Regions from separate parts of the Homo sapiens genome. Here region 2 is linked to region 1. The links are contacts of gene promoters, found by promoter capture Hi-C in human tissues and cell types (Jung and others, 2019). All regions are on one chromosome and are shown on one strand. Each heading gives the region's core, a stretch centred on a gene start or on the middle of the fragment in contact. The rest is flanking DNA. Distances are from core to core; before and after follow the strand shown.

Evidence for each region. The method cuts DNA at HindIII sites, captures the fragments that hold promoters and counts their contacts. A contact is called where the count stands out against the background at its distance.
Region 2: a contact is called between a fragment that was not itself captured here and the fragment with the promoter of OR4B1 in region 1, in 1 of the 25 tissues and cell types used here (spleen).

Annotation. Positions count from the first base shown.
Region 1 is chr11:48,215,504-48,218,203 of GRCh38, forward strand. It overlaps OR4B1 (olfactory receptor family 4 subfamily B member 1), which reads left to right and starts at 1,307. Exons shown (of 1, transcript NM_001005470.1): 1 at 1,307-2,236. The coding sequence starts at 1,307. The coding sequence ends at 2,236. The HindIII fragment of the contact is 4,187 bases long and covers 1-2,700 here.
Region 2 is chr11:48,180,229-48,182,928 of GRCh38, forward strand. No RefSeq gene overlaps it. Among named protein-coding and RNA genes, the nearest start is that of OR4B1, 35 kb to the right of the region's middle. The HindIII fragment of the contact is 3,592 bases long and covers 1-2,700 here.

The DNA of each region.
Region 1 (2,700 bases), core at 57-2,556:
ATTTTATTTAATATTTTTTGAGACGGAGTTTTGCTCTTGTCACCCAGGCTGGAGTGCAATGGTGAGATCTTGGCTCACTGCAACCTCCACCTCCCGGGTTCAAGTGATTATCCTGTCTCAGCCTCCTGAGTAGGTGGGATTACAGGTGCCCACCAGCATGCCCGGTTAATTTTTGTATTTTTAGTAGAGATGGGGTTTCACCATGTTGGCCAGGCCGATCTTGAACTCCTGACCTCAGTTGATCCACCCACCTCGGCCTCCTAAAGTGCTGGGATTACAGGCCTGAGCCACTGCTCCCGGCCCGAGATACTTCAACATAGTTTTGAAAGCAGAGAAAATCTTGAAGTTTTTCTCTCCTTCTTTTCATAAATGTGTTGTTTAATCATTTGAAGTTACAAGCCTCTTCAGGCTAGAACCATGTTCCATTCTCCTTTCCTATGTCCTGAGTTGCCTAGGCCTGTGGTAGGTACTTAATAAAATCTTTGGTTTAAAGAGTTATTTTAAAAGAAATCCTGCACCTTCTGCTGACAAAAATGTTTGCTAATGGCAAGCAAACTGGAAGACAGAAACAAGCAAAGTGGTGTTGTCCATATGTTATATTCAAACTATTGTTTGATAGGGAGCTATTCTCCAAACAACTTCTGGATGTTCACTTAGCTCTCAGCTGCCAACATTTTCTCAAAATGGTTGTAAAATTCATGAAGCTATAGGACTGGGCAAAAACCATAGGGTCTGAAAGAATTCAGAAACTTACATAGTTCATGTAATGAAAACATCAAAGATATTCCCTAAAATGGAGATGTTTCACTTAGATTGGCATTTCTGGGGAGTAAATAAATGGAGGAAACAAAAGAGTCAGGAGCAGAAGGTCACTATACAATCTCTAACACAAAGACATGACCAGAGAAAATGGAGAATAGGAGAAATGTTAGTAATTAATATAAATGGTTTTCATGCTGAAAGCGGTAATTTTTTTTACTTAAAGTAATGTATGAGTTGGAATAATATGACCTGGGAGGCTTGGCTAATTCACAAATTCTCTGAGCCTCAGTTTTCTTACTTGTTATATGGGGATCATAGAGTTTTTGTGGGGCTGCTTGACCAGTGTCTTGCATAGGGTAGGCTATTGAGCACCAAATGAATAAACATTGACTATATAAATAAATAAACAAATGAGTCAGAAAATATGCATAAAAGGGTTTTATTAACAAGCAAGTGCTAAATAAACATGAAGGATTAGCGTTATGATTGCATGTGCTTTGTCACAGGGCTCTTCTCTGAGATCTGTCTTCTCTGAGTGGAATCCATGGCCAGTACAAGTAATGTGACTGAGTTGATTTTCACTGGCCTTTTCCAGGATCCAGCTGTGCAGAGTGTATGCTTTGTGGTGTTTCTCCCCGTGTACCTTGCCACGGTGGTGGGCAATGGCCTCATCGTTCTGACGGTCAGTATCAGCAAGAGTCTGGATTCTCCCATGTACTTCTTCCTTAGCTGCCTGTCCTTGGTGGAGATCAGTTATTCCTCCACTATCGCCCCTAAATTCATCATAGACTTACTTGCCAAGATTAAAACCATCTCTCTGGAAGGCTGTCTGACTCAGATATTCTTCTTCCACTTCTTTGGGGTTGCTGAGATCCTTTTGATTGTGGTGATGGCCTATGATTGCTACGTGGCCATTTGCAAGCCTCTTCATTATATGAACATTATCAGTCGTCAACTGTGTCACCTTCTGGTGGCTGGTTCCTGGCTGGGGGGCTTTTGTCACTCCATAATTCAGATTCTCGTTATCATCCAATTGCCCTTCTGTGGTCCCAATGTGATTGACCACTATTTCTGTGACCTCCAGCCTTTATTCAAGCTTGCCTGCACTGACACCTTCATGGAGGGGGTTATTGTGTTGGCCAACAGTGGATTATTCTCTGTCTTCTCCTTCCTCATCTTGGTGTCCTCTTATATTGTCATTCTGGTCAACTTGAGGAACCATTCTGCAGAGGGGAGGCACAAAGCCCTCTCCACCTGTGCTTCTCACATCACAGTGGTCATCTTGTTTTTTGGACCTGCTATCTTCCTCTACATGCGACCTTCTTCCACTTTCACTGAAGATAAACTTGTGGCTGTATTCTACACGGTCATCACCCCCATGCTGAACCCCATCATTTACACACTCAGGAATGCAGAGGTGAAAATCGCCATAAGAAGATTGTGGAGCAAAAAGGAGAATCCAGGGAGGGAGTGAAAAAAGAGCTTAGGGATGAAAAAGTGATACAAAATGTATGTCTGATTACTCTCTGTTCTTGAAATGGATTTTGATTTTAGTGGGATATTCAAGAATGACAGAAACAAATATAAAGGCTTAATGATACTGCTGCTGTGATTCTGCTTAGTAGCCAAAGACACTTGGTATGCTGGTGTAATGTTTGAAGGACAGAGGTCAGATAGTCTCGCAGAGTCTTAGAGAACTTGATTGGCTTCATGATATCCAACAATATCATGGGCTTGGGTAATATGAAGCCTCAAACCAAGTGCAAATGCAAAGGAGAACATGTTGATAAATGTTTTTTAGATTAAGTCACTTCTTCCTGTTACCTCCTCCCTTCCTCACTTCTTTTCTTTCTCCCTTTTGCTCTTCCTCCTTCCTCCCTCCCTTCCTTCTTTTCTTCCTTCATTCTTTCTCCCCTCTTTGTTCAAACTCCCTCATGA
Region 2 (2,700 bases), core at 51-2,550, 35 kb before region 1:
TTTACACACACACACAGATATACATAGATACATAAACACATTTTGAGACATGGTCTCACTCTGTCACCCAGGCTGGAGTGCAATGGCACAATCTCGGCTTACTGCAGCCTTCGCCTCTCAAGTTCAAGTGATTCTCATGTCTCAGCCTCCCAAGTAGCTGGGATTACAGGTGCACGCCACCATGCCTGGCTAATTTTTTGTATTTTCAGTAGAGATGGGGTTTCACCATGTTGGCCAGGCTGGTCTTGAACTCCTGACCTCAAGTGATCCTCCCACCTTGGCCTCCCAAAGTGCTGGGATTAGAGTGTGAGCCACTGCGCCCGGCCATATCTGTTGGTTTGATGTGAGGGAAGCAGAAGGAACAAAGCATAGATTGATTTAGCAGGAAAATGCAACAATCATCAATTTCTGTCAGCGCCTGTGAAGTCCTTATTTAAAAAGTGGAAACAATTAGTGTCTTGCCAAAGCCACACAGCTAGTAAATGGCAAGCCTGGGAATTGAGCTCCCATCTATTGGGCTTAAAAATCTGGGCTCTGTCCATGACTCTACCCCAGCTTTGCAAGAGGGAGTTACTCCTAAGATGCAGCTTTCAGATGCTGACATTCCTGCTGACTTAGCGTAAGTAGCACGGTCAGGAGACATAAGATCACTTGGGAGCAGAGAAGCTGGGAAGGGGAAAAGGAAAACCCTAGGAAAGGGGTAGGGTGGGGAAGAGAAATGTGAAACGTACCTGGTGGATTCACGGGGCTGACGGGGAGGTGGGTTTAGGTACAAGCTTTAGGCTTTGGCATTAGATGGTCCTGGCTGACCATCTGCTAGGTGTGATGCTGCAGGCAAGCCACCCCGTCTCTTTGAATCTCTGGTTCTTCATCTGCAAACTGAGAACGATGGTAGCATTTACTTACAGTTTTAAATGAGATAGTGTGTGCATTTTCAAGATGAACTGCTAGCCTTTATATAGACAGAGGCAGAAGGTTTCCTTGGAGTAGAGTCTCTGTTCTAAGAAGTTAACTGAATGCTCTGCTTAACAATGCAGAGATCGTGAGTGTAGGAACCTATTACGTGTTTCCTGAGGCAGACTACTCTCCCCTGGGTAGAGACAGATTTTCATCCAGAGCAAGGGGCTTTCAGGAAAGGAAGGAATGAGACCCTGTCTTTTGTTTTGTTTTTGAGACGGAGTCTCATTCTGTCACCCAGGCTGGAGTGCAGTGGTGTGATCTTGGCTCACTGCAACCTCTGCCTCCCAGGTTCAAGCAATTCTCCTGCCTCAGCCTTCTGAGTAGCTGGGATTACAGGTGCCCACCACCATGCCTGGCTAATTTTTGTAGTTTTAGTGAGATAGGGTTTCACCATGTTGGCCAGGCTGGTCTCGGACTCCTGACCTTGGGTGATCTGCCCACCTTGGCCTCCTAAAGTGCTGGGATTACAGGTGTTAGCCACCATGCCCAATGAGATCCTGTCTTTTGCTCTCTGAGATTTGCAATTAAAGAAACCTATTTTTGTGGTTCAGGATGATCATATTGACCATGATTCATCTGCATAGAAGAATATTAGAAGCCCCTAAGGAATCCTACCATGAGGGAAAGGGGTACCTGTGTTGATGCTGTAGGCTCAGCACTGGGGTTTGCGTGGGAGTTTTGATTTGATGCAACATGCTGGGGCTGGAAGCTTCTCTGGATCCAACCATCCTAGACCACTGTGTTTTGGGGATCAAGAGCTGAGCATGTGAGAATGAACAAAGAGAACAATGACCTTGGAGCACAAGTAGGGAAGCTAACCTTGGCATGGCAGAAGTCAGACCTGCAGCAGCATCACTGCAGCAGTGGGCGGAAGACACAGGCCCACCAGATTATATGGGACCAACTGCATGGTAATGACCGAAAACAAGGATTAGTCAGATTTTTAATTTTCTCTCTTCACACATGGCTTTTTGGAAGCAGGAGTCCTTTTGACTGAGTTTTCCTGGGAAGTTCTTGGAAAATTTGGGATGGAGATGGGGTCTGGCATTGTGTGAGAGAGAATGAACTTCCTACTAATAAGACAGGTGAGGCCTTGAGCCATTAGTTGGATTAAAAAAAAGATGTGATTTAATTTTTATTTTCCAGGAGGTGAGACAGATTGTAGGAAATGGAGTAAATTAATGGCTGCCATAACAAACAACCCCTTGATCTCAATGGCCTATTCTCATACCCCAGTTTCATGTGGTTGGCAGCCACTCAAGAACCTAGGCTGGTAGGGGTTGTACGACCTTTAACCCAAACCTCTCAAGGTCACCCAAAGTGTCATTCAGCTGGTAGACAAAGAAGAGAAGGCCAAAGACAATGTGTGGGAGGTTTTTATGGCCAAGTTGGGAAGTGACATACAGTCGATTCTCTGTATTCATGGGTTCTGCATTCACAGATTCAACCAGTTGCAGATTGAAAATATTTGGAGAAAAAACCCATCAATAAAACCCACAAACATTTAAAATAAAAATAAAAGTATAGCAATATAATAATAAAACATAAAATAAAAGATACAATATAACAGCCATTTAGATAGCATTTGCACTGTATTAGGTATTATAAGTAATCTAGATGATTTAAAGTGCAGAGGAGGATGTGCATAGTTTATATGACAATGCGACACCACTTTATATAAAGGATTTGACCACTCATAGATTTTGGTGTCCACCAGGGTCCTAGAACCAATCCCCTGTG